2 separate regions of the Homo sapiens genome follow, and region 2 is linked to region 1. Evidence: promoter capture Hi-C in human tissues and cell types (Jung and others, 2019). All regions are on one chromosome and are shown on one strand. Each heading gives the region's core, a stretch centred on a gene start or on the middle of the fragment in contact. The rest is flanking DNA. Distances are from core to core; before and after follow the strand shown.

Region 1 (5,360 bases), core at 1,853-4,352:
AAAGGCTCCTACACTTTCCACTTCTGATCACTTTTCTCTGCCTGGAAGCCCTCATAATTCCATTCCCCTCACTCCACCCTAATTTAAAGTCCATCTGAATTAAGTCAAAAAGCCTTTCTTGGTCATACCTCCTTAGCATTTCATAACACTTGGCACCTCTCCTATGGCATACATTATACCTTATGTTATACATGAGCACTCCTATAATTGACAAGATCCTCAAGAGCTTCTTACTCCTCTTCTGATGCCTGCAATGCCTAGCCCAGTGTTAAGTAGAGAACTAAGCATTAGATATGAGCTGCCCCAAATGTTTCCCACTTAGAAAGCAATGGAGGACTGTGTTTTCAGACAATCCCAAACTCCCTTAAGGGAATTAAGCACATATTCTCCTTTTGTCTCATATTTCTATGTCTTAGACCAATTTTTAAGTAAATTGCCTTCAAGATATCTAGACTGCTATTTAGTATACATAACTGTAAGAGTTCTGCTCCAGGGAGTTCCAACTTGTAACTGAACCCTGAATATTTAAGCTCTCTCTTTATGCCAAAAGACAATGGAAATTTATTTTTTGAATGTTAATAAAATTGAGCAAAACATAAAAATAACTTGCACTGAATTAAACATGTTTGAAGTAAAGATTCATTAATGCTAATGTGTCTGTCCTAAAAATTACATTTCAAGTTCTAAAGTCTTTGTGTACCCATTAAAAAGATTGAAAGTTTTATTTCAACTCTTTCTCACCTCAAAGACAAACTAAAATAGAACAGAGAAGGCTTTTCCTTAATTTTATTTAGATCCTAACTTGAAGGTATACTTTGTTATTTCTTCAAAAGGAGCAAAAAGAGTATGATTAATGAGCATGTTCTGACCAGATCTCTAAGTCCTACTCCAAAGCTGTAACAGGAGAGTACCATAGACCACACTACCAGCACCCTTCGTTAGCAGACCACAGGCTTTGTTTTGTATCTCCCTGAGCTAAGAATGGCTTTACATTTTTGTGTTTTGTAAACACAAGAAGAAGAATATGCAACAGAGAGCATATGTGGCCAGCAAAGCCCAAAATATTTACTATTTGTCCCTTTTCAACAGGATGAATTTGGGACTCCTCGTTGCCCTTCACTGGCACGTAAGACATCCCACCTTTAAAAAAGCAATGTAAAACACAAGACCATTTAAAAAGATCGAACTCGTTCAACTTAGTCATAGTTAATGCAGACTTAACTTCTAAAACAGAGACCTGTGTGTGGACATTTTTATTCTTCACAGAATTTTTGTTGGAAGAAACTTGCCTTCATTCTGTGGATGAACATACTTATGCTTGAAAATGGAAAGTGCCTGACCCAAAGTCACACTGCTGGTTAACAGCAGAGTAGGGTCAAGGACCCAGCCTTCAAAACCCTGGTCCAATGCTTTGCAGTCCACTACATACACCTATACATGTGGCTTTAAATTTTGGAGATGTGGATAACTAGCTTGGATCAATATAAAAGATGAAAGCTTAAAACCTGTTCCTAACATACTGTTTAGACAGACTCCTACTAGCAGCTATGAATCATTAAACAGAGTAGCATTAATGCTCACCACATACATTAGATAAGAACTTCTAGGAAGTCCTCTGTTTCAAAAGCAGATATGATAAAAAAAGGCTTTAAACCTACAGGGTTTGCTCCTCCAGGGCTTCAGATTAGGGCAAATAACGCACTTCTGCCTACCAGCTGTTCAATACTCATCTCCCAACCCAAATCCACAAGTTCCACAAATGCTTTCGAATGCCTGTTGAAAAACATTGTTCAGTCTCATCACATACACACGTTCTACAGATAATTACAACTTCTTGTATGCCTACTTGTAAAACTACTAAGTAGTTCACATTTTAAAAAATTTCCCTAAGAATTTTGCTTCCTTTAAAAAAACTGCTTCTTCGATTCCTAAATCTATAGAACTCACTTTATCACGTCTTCTCGGTTAATCCAAGAATTAAAAAAACCATTTTGCCCATACTGATAACTTTACTACTCTGCAGGATCCGAAAAGCTCTCTATATGCCAGGTTCTAGGATTCACACACATTAACAACCTAAGATCCTTCAAGTGAGATAGCTCTTGCAGTACAGAGCACAGATTCTCAGGGTCGTGGGGGATACCGGCTGAGGCTCTTCAGACCCCCACCACAGGAGTTCCGTCCTCTAAGGGCAACCCCCTCCCCCTTGGCCGCGGCGCGAGTCCAGGCCTCCCGGGCACCTGCGGCCCCTGCCCGCTGCGGGGACCCCCCGAGGAACCAGCCCCCCGCCGGGCCCCAAGGAATCGGCGCCCACTCCCACTCCTGGAGGCCAGTGACTGCAGGCCTAAGCCGCCCGCCGGCCCCGGGACGCGACGTTACCTGTAGGACCACGTCGTTCGGCAGCTGCGCGGCCCGGAACAGCTCCAGCACCCGCCCGTTGACCACCACCTTCTTGGTGCTCTCAATGTCGCAGTAGGAGAAGAGATCTGAATAGTATTTCTGCTCCGCATCGCTCAGCGTTAAGCCTTCCATCTTCGCCTCCGGCTCACGGCCGCCCCGCCCCGCATGCACTACTCGGGGCCCGGCCCCAGGAACCTGGGCCGGCAGGGGCTGCGCGTGGCCCGGCCTCCTGCTAGCTTCCCGAAAACGCCGGCCCCGGCCTCACACGCGCCAGGTGCGCCCGAGCAACAGGGCCCGGAGGTCGCGAGGAGGGGGCCCGGCTGCGCTCGCCGCGCCGCTGCCTGCGAGGCCCGGCGCGCGGCTGCGGCTGCGGCTGCGACTACGGCTCCGGCTCCGGCTCCGGCTCCGGCCGCGGGGAGGGTGCAGAGAAAGAGGCGGGGGCCGCGGAGGCGCGAGGCACTGGCGGACTCCGCCCCCGCCGCGGGTTCGAGTCTCCCCGGCTCCCTGCCGATTCCCCCAGACTTCCCGCCTCGGCTTCCCCTTCCGTCCACGCCTCCGGAGCGGCAGCGCTTCCCGGAAAGTTGTGGGGCTTCGAACCTAAAGTTTCGGGGGATCTGGGCTGAGCGTGGCCGCCGCTCCGCCTCCCTCCGCCGCCATTTACAGTGCCCCGGCCCGGCCCCGACGCGCCCGCACCAACAGTGACAGCGGCGGCCGCGCTCCAGACCCGGATGTGAGGCCGGGAGGAGAGAGCGCGAGAGGGAGAGAGAAACACCCACCGGGCTGGCTTGGCCGCTCCCGGGAGAGGGAGGAGGCCGCAGCGCCCCCTGGTGGCCGGCGCCCGGCGGCGGGATGACCGAGCCGCCCTCTGCGCGGAGATCTCAGCAGCAAGACCCCCGGAAAGGGGGGTGCAGTGGGAAACAGCCGGCAGCTCATTAAGACCGAGATAACTAAGATCCGGGTTGCAGTTTTTATGTTTCGCAGTTTCTGGTCCTAAGCGTCTGAATAATTGGATTGAAAGGGGAGCCTTGTTCAGGTTATTATCATTCTATCTGTACCTTTTCGGTACAGATGAAGATAAATGCAGTATTTCCATCTGTTCTGAAGGGCTATGAACATCCGGGCTATGAACATCCTGGCTATCCGGGAAGCCTCCACGTAGACACCAACATTGAGGCTTCATCTCACTCGTGCTTCAAGCCATGTTTACCTGAGAAACAAAATGTGCTGAATAGAGGGGAAAACTGGCAAAGTTGTCCTCTTTGTTCACCAGGTCATTCCGGTCACTGGGAACTTAATACTCTACATTTATACCTTCAACTCTATCAACTCATGTAGGCCCGGGGCTGCCCACAGGGGCTGCCTTCCGTATTTTCTCCTTTATGAAAATCATGGAGTGGCGCTCTTTTAATCTGCACCTGTCCCAGAGAGGGGATTCTTCAGCTATTTCAAGTAGAATATCTTAAGAATTTATACTTAGCAAATATAAAATACTTCAAAGACGGGAGCTAAGGCAGAATTACCCAGAGTTCTGGTTTTTATTTTGTCTTCTACAAGTTGTTTCCCAGAGTGCGGATCCTATAAATGACACATATGAGGAAATTATTACAGGTTCCCAGTCATTTATCTGTAATTGCAAAATTCAAAGCGCACTGAAAACCCAAAGACTTTTTTTTGTAACCCTTTGGAAGTAAAACCTGCCCTGCCTCATTTGGAGGCAAAATCTAAACTAAGCTTGCATGAAGCTATTTCTAGCCTTTATGGATCCCACTTAGTGTCAATATTTACTCATTTCACTCCAGGTCTTTGTAGAATGTTAATATGTACACAGTCACAGGCATTCTATTATCTTTCTATTTTTTAAGAAAGATAAGGGATTTTAGACCTGTCAATGTCTTCTGACTTGACTAGTAGTATTTGATAAAGGTAAGTATATACTATCCATTAAGCTTATTTCCCATCTCTAAGACTTTCAGTTTGCTACAGCAGCCCCTCATGTGTCCTTTCAGGGCACCTGCAGCAAGTGATCAGACCCCCCCCAGACAGCTGCCTTCCAAAGGTGTAAACAGAAAGAGCACAATGGGGTAGGGATTGGCTCACAATTGTCTTTGCATCTTTTTCTCTGCCACCTCTCCTAGGCCTTGCAGCTCTTGTCGGCCCCAGGGCCTTTGTTCCTGCCATCTAAAATAGTCCTTCCACAAACCATGGCATGGCGTATTCTCTCATATGGTTTCAGGTCCCTGCTCATATGTCACCTCCTCAGAGCAGCCTTCCTGCAACAGCTGCTGTAAAATAATCCCACCATGCACTATCCCCTTATCTGAATTCCTTTTTTTTCTCTTTTGAGACAGAGTCTCCCACTGTCACCCAGGCTGGAGTGCAGTGGCATAATCTTGGCTCACTGTAGCTTCGACCTCCCAGGCTCAGGTGATTCTCCCACCTCAGCCTCCCAGGTAGCTGGGACCACAGGCCCAGGCCACCATGCCCACCTAAATTTTGTGTATGTGGCTTTTGTAGAGACAGAGTTTTGCCATGTTACCCAGGCTGGTCTCAAACTCTTGGGCTCACCCACCTCAGCCTCCCAAAGCGCTGGGATTACAGGCATGAGCCACTGCACCCAACCTGAATTCTTTTTCTTTATAACACTTTTCACTATCTGACATTACATATATAGCTGTTACATTTTTAACGGCTAATTATTGAATAATTACTAAGTTTCAGGCATTGTTCTAAAGCTTTACACTAATAACCACATTATTCACAACAACCCTATTAAGTGGTACTACTAGGTTTTTTTTTTTTTTTGACAGATTAGGAAACTGAGGCAAAATGGGTTAAGTATTGTGTAAGTCATGTTGCTATTAAATACCCGGATCTGGGATTCAAACTCCAGGCTGTCTCAACTCTAAAAATCACTACCCTATCTTGCCTGTCTAATTTCTTTGTTAAGTTTGTTATTAAGA
Region 2 (5,362 bases), core at 1,882-4,381, 64 kb before region 1:
ACGATCTGGGCATAGCCCATGACTTATAGTCCCAGCTACTCGGGGATGCTTAGGTAGGAGGATCCTTTTTTTTTTTTTTTTTTTTTTTTTTTGAGATGGAGTCTCGCTCTGTTGCCCAGGCTGGAGTACAGTGGCGTGATCTTGGCTCACTGCAACCTTCCGCCTCCCAGGTACAAGTGATTCTCCTGCCTCAGCCTCCCAAGTAGCTGGGATTATAGGCACCTGCCACCATGCCCGGCTAATTTTTATATTTTTAGTAGAGACAGGGTTTCGCTATGCTGGCCAGGCTGGTCTCGAACTCCTGACCTTGTGATCCGCCCGCCTCGGCCTACAAAGTGCTGGGATTACAGGCGTGAGCCACTGCGCCCGGCCAGGTAGGAGGATCCTTGAGCCTGGGGAGTGGAACCTGCAGTGAGCTGTGATCATGCCACATCATTTCAGCTTAGGTGACAGAGCTAGACCACATCTCAAAAAGTGTGTGTGTGTGTGTGTGTGTGTGTGTGAGATTTACATTTAAAAAATGCTCTTATAAAAACACAGTTCAAGACAATATTAAAAAGTGAGGAATGATCTGATAAAATTATGCAAATGTGAGCCTTGAAGTTAAAATAAACTATTTCATGAGAATCCAAAATCTAAGTAACAGACTGAAAACTCATTTTCAGTAAACTGCTCAAGAAAATTTGACACTTTCTTTAACCTATAAAACAAAGTTAATGAGATGCCTATGACATTGCAATAGTAGGCACAATACAAACTTCCTACGGATTAATTCAAAGTGTTTAAATTTGATTGTCTCAAAATTTAGCATGAAACTGCCACAAAGGAATCCATTTTTTTTAAGAGGAACAAGACTCCCATTCTAAGAAGCTAATACTTTTCTTAAACATTTTTCATTACTGTAATACAGTTGATATTTCTAAACTTCATGAGAGTCTAGTCTAGTTAGAGGACTAAAGGAATTGATAATAAAGACTTCTGACTAGAATGAAAGCACAAAAGAAAGGATGAGAGAATGAAGACAATGGTAGCCTCTCAGAAAAAGAAGAAAAAGAGAGGTGTACCTAGGACACAGTAGGCCTGATCTTAGGGACTGAGACTCCCAGGGCAGAAACCAGAACCAGATCAAGCACCTGGCTTAACAGCAATAGACCAGCTGAGAAACATCACCAAGGGGGCCCAGCTCCTTCTATGAGGGGTCAGTTCACACTCTGTATATGCGGCCGCTAAAGACTGAATTTGAGATCCTAAATTTTGAATATCTAGTCATGAATTAAGTTTATAATTTAGTGTGGAGGATAATGGCCTTTCAGTTTAAGTTGGAAACTGTTTTGGTGAGACAGTACTGTGCTAACACCAAGCCCTTGCTAGAGAAAGCGAAGTTCCAGCATACCCTCTCTTATCTGACATATCTCCTTGCCTTATGTTTATCTCTGAATTCAAACAACTTGTAACAAATTCTTTACATCTATTATACTAACAAATTCATTCAAAGTAATTTCTTGCCCCTACACCACAGAGAATCTGGACAGGGTTCATGTACTTAACCAATCAACCTAACATTTGCCCTACAACTCAAAAATTATAGTTACAAATAATATTAACATTATAGATGGATGAAAGTTTAGATTTGTCTTATAATAATAAGTCATTCTCAGGAAAGTATTTATAAGAATACCTTTAAGATATTAAGTTATATGTTGGTTATAAAAACATGGCTTTAGGAGCAACTCTACTATTTTCTTAATTTACATTTAATACCAGAAATAACTGTTAAGAAAATCAGAATTTACCTTTATAAGGCAAGATCAAAGGAGAAAAAAATGATAGTTCATGAGAAAATAAGTCTTATTCCAAATACAAAGCAAATTAGAAATTTTAAAAAAGAAAAACTTCTTAGATGCTTTAATTCATAACATTCATCTAATCTATATTCGACGTATGTGTATGTGTATATAAAATCAGATTTATAAAGCTTGGAACAGCTGGGAATGTTAACTAGCATTTTCATATATTTGCAGTGCAATCAATCACAGCAAAGACTAACGCATTACACTTCTCATCCACCTACAATTTTCCTGTGTTTTCATTCATGTATATCCTAGCAGAAGCAGATTCTACCAAAGGCTACTAACTGACAAGCAGTTCAAGAAAAGAGATCAAGTTTCTGGAAACAAGACCATCAGAATCTCAATTTCATCAGAACTATGAAAGCTTAATAACTAACCATCTGGTTTGCAAATGGGGTCACTGCACTGTGTAGTGGTTGTCTCTAAATGCTACAGACCAGTTTGGAACTTTGCACTGACTTTTACTGAGCAAATGGCTAATTATTACAATTTAGTTTCTTTTTAATAGTCTGTTAAATATTTCCAATACTGTAAGAAATGTTAAATTCATAATAGAAGAGTAGAGTTTTTCCCCCCAGGTGATTCCCTTGTAATCTGAATGTGCCTTATTTACTTACTTATAATCCTTATTTATATAAAGCCTTGCAAAGGATCATGTGGGATTGTGGCTACAGGCTGTAGTGGGTCTGTAGATGGGTAATACTTCAGGTAAGTATCAAATGAAGGTTAAGAAACTTAGACACTGTAGGACACAACTAAGAGAAAGCAGGCTACTCTTCTAACCGAAAATTTAAAGTAAGAATACTGGTTGGGAAACAAAGTTCAGATTTAAGTTTGCCAACATAAAATAAATATTTCTAGGCATTAGATTATAAACATAAATATTTAAGAATGACAATTTTTTAAAATCCAATTCAGAGGTCTAAATTCAAGTTTAAAATGCAAATTAATCACTCTATTTTCCTAGAGCCTCCTGACACACTAGAGATAACAAAGGAAAGTAATGAGCCACATAATTTTAGACACTAGAGCTGCAAATCTGAATATTATTTCCAAGAAATGTCAATAATATCACTGCTACTCAACCAACTATTTCTCTACATTTCCTGTCAGTCGTAGGTCAATTTATTTCGCTTCTGAGTTCTAGATTTTTATACATAATGTTCTTGCCTGGCCTGACAAAGAATCATAATACTATGAGTGATTATTGTCACTATTTTTTAAGGGTTAGAGAATATAATAGTTTCTTTATTGCTACATCTAACCTTCCTTCCCATATACTTTCATTAAGTACTTTCATATTAGCTTAACTGTACAATAATGAGACAGGAATAATATAGAGAATCAAAACTTAAAGCTTAAAGGCAAAACTTTAAACTTAAAAAGAAAACAAAGATAAAACTTCTAATTTACAGAACTTGTCAATTCCTAAGAGATCTTAATTATAGCTGCCAATAAGCAGCAAAGTTTTCAATCATTGCCTTGTATTTCTCCTACATTTTTCAGAGACTAAAATAAAAAATAAATGCCTTAAATGTAGCAAGAAATGAGGAGCAAAAGGCAGAGATAATCTACATATCAACTGGTCCTTGAATACTTAATAGACAATAAAATAAACATTTTAAAATTGTACATTATCTGTTTGAATTCAATAAATGTAACAGCAGCCTCTAGATTTCATATAAATTCTTTAAAATGATAAAAGACATCAGGCCAGGTGTGGTGGCTCACACCTGTAATCCCAGCACTTTGGGAGGCCGAGGTGGGTGGATCACTGGAGGTCAGGAGTTCAAGATCAGCCTGGCCAACATGGTGAAACCCCGCCTCTACTAAAAAATACACACACACACACACACACACACAAATTAGCCAGGCATGGTGGCGGACACCTGTAGTCCCAGCTACTCGGGAGGCTAAGGTAGGAGAATCGGTTGAACCCAGGAGGCAGAGGTTGCAGTGAGCTGAGATCGCACCACTGCACTCCAGCCTGGGCGAAAGAGAGAGGCTCCAACTCAAAAAACAAAAACAAAAAACAAACCACATCAAAGGCCCATTAACTGCTAATGGTATACTTTATCTTTAAATGCCACTTCTTCAAAATCTCTTTAGATGACAAGACCATTTTTACATTTAATTAATAAATGCTGGCTGTCTTTGATCAGATCATCTAGAAAGAACGACTTATGTCATTTTCTCCATATCTTTCTACTCAGCTCATTTTAAAAATTCTGCCTTTACACATTTCTTCACTTTCTGCTTACTCCCTCTTTTCTTTTTGGAAAGTGCTTATTAGCACATCCTTGTCTTAAAAAAAAAAAAAAAGACAGAGAGAGAAAGAAAAAGAAAAAGCAGAGAAGTGAACAGGGAGAAGAACGATTAACAGCTAAGGTTTTCAAAAAACCCAAGGGACAGGTGTAGCATATATTAAATTAACTCTATGGGGACAGAATTTATTTTTTAAATCAGGATATGAACTTTGTAGCATTTTCAAAGCAACACAGTAAGCCACAAGAAGACAAGACAGAGGCTCCTTTGCATAAGCGGAATATTTGACCAACATCTTGTATTGCTGAACTTGATTCTCTCTAACAGGACTCAACATACTAATTAAATAAAAGCCATGTCATTTGGCATGTCAAAATAAAAGATGACATTGCATAAATAGTTACATATGTAGGACATATTACATGATGTGTAAGCATACAGATAATACATAAAGAGTCACTACACTGAAATAAACAGTATGTATATAAAATATACACTTAATTAGCAAATGATAAGGTTAACAAAATAGATTGTCACAAAAAATGCTTCTCTAGACACATGTACCAGATTTTAAAAACGTAGTTTTCTCTCAACAAAATAACTAGAAAAAAGGAATGGCAAAAAATGTCTTTCCCACCATTAAGCACACAAAAACCAAAAAGCCTGCCGCCACTTCCCTCTAAGCACTCCACTGAATCATGCATATCAGCTAAAAACGATAATGAATGGAAATTTGGGTTAATAAAATTAATCTCAAACAAGCAAGCTAAGTGATTGACTTACAGGATCAGCTGGTGCAATGTTAGAATCAAATTGGGTCAGAGTTTGTGAGCTTGAAGAGCGTTCACTAAATGTCTCCCACTGCTGAACAGACAGAGGAGAGACAAGTCAGCATGATGAGAAAGATGGAGTAAAAGATCACTGGAGAAGATTTAGCAAAGTAATTCAGAGGTTGCACTGCAAGTTGTGTTTCATAGGTTTAACAAAATTCAGTAATTTCTATTTTTCCGTCAACATTTTATATTTATTCTGGGTCACTTGTAATGTAAGGTGAGGAGTTCACAATCAAAAGTATAGTAATGATTTATTGCAATCTCTATGGAAGAGATTTAAAGCCTTACAGAGTTAAAATAAAACACAATACAGGAGCAAAGTCTAAGTGATATAAATGTCCACCAAGTAAAAATGCTAAAGAGGCATGCCTTGACTAAAGAAAGAAAGAATAACATCAAATTCTTCTTTGAACA

Evidence for each region. The method cuts DNA at HindIII sites, captures the fragments that hold promoters and counts their contacts. A contact is called where the count stands out against the background at its distance.
Region 2: a contact is called between a fragment that was not itself captured here and the fragment with the promoter of REPS1 in region 1, in 1 of the 25 tissues and cell types used here (mesenchymal stem cells).

The regions. Positions count from the first base shown.
Region 1 is chr6:138,985,151-138,990,510 of GRCh38, forward strand. It overlaps REPS1 (RALBP1 associated Eps domain containing 1), which reads right to left and starts at 3,103. Exons shown (of 20, transcript NM_001286611.2): 1 at 2,380-3,103. The coding sequence starts at 2,532. RefSeq lists silencers at 2,605-2,904, 3,095-3,334. The HindIII fragment of the contact is 5,323 bases long and covers 1-4,739 here.
Region 2 is chr6:138,921,503-138,926,864 of GRCh38, forward strand. It overlaps REPS1 (RALBP1 associated Eps domain containing 1), which reads right to left. Exons shown (of 20, transcript NM_001286611.2): 10 at 4,899-4,979. Among named protein-coding and RNA genes, the nearest start is that of REPS1, 64 kb to the right of the region's middle. The HindIII fragment of the contact is 4,532 bases long and covers 866-5,362 here.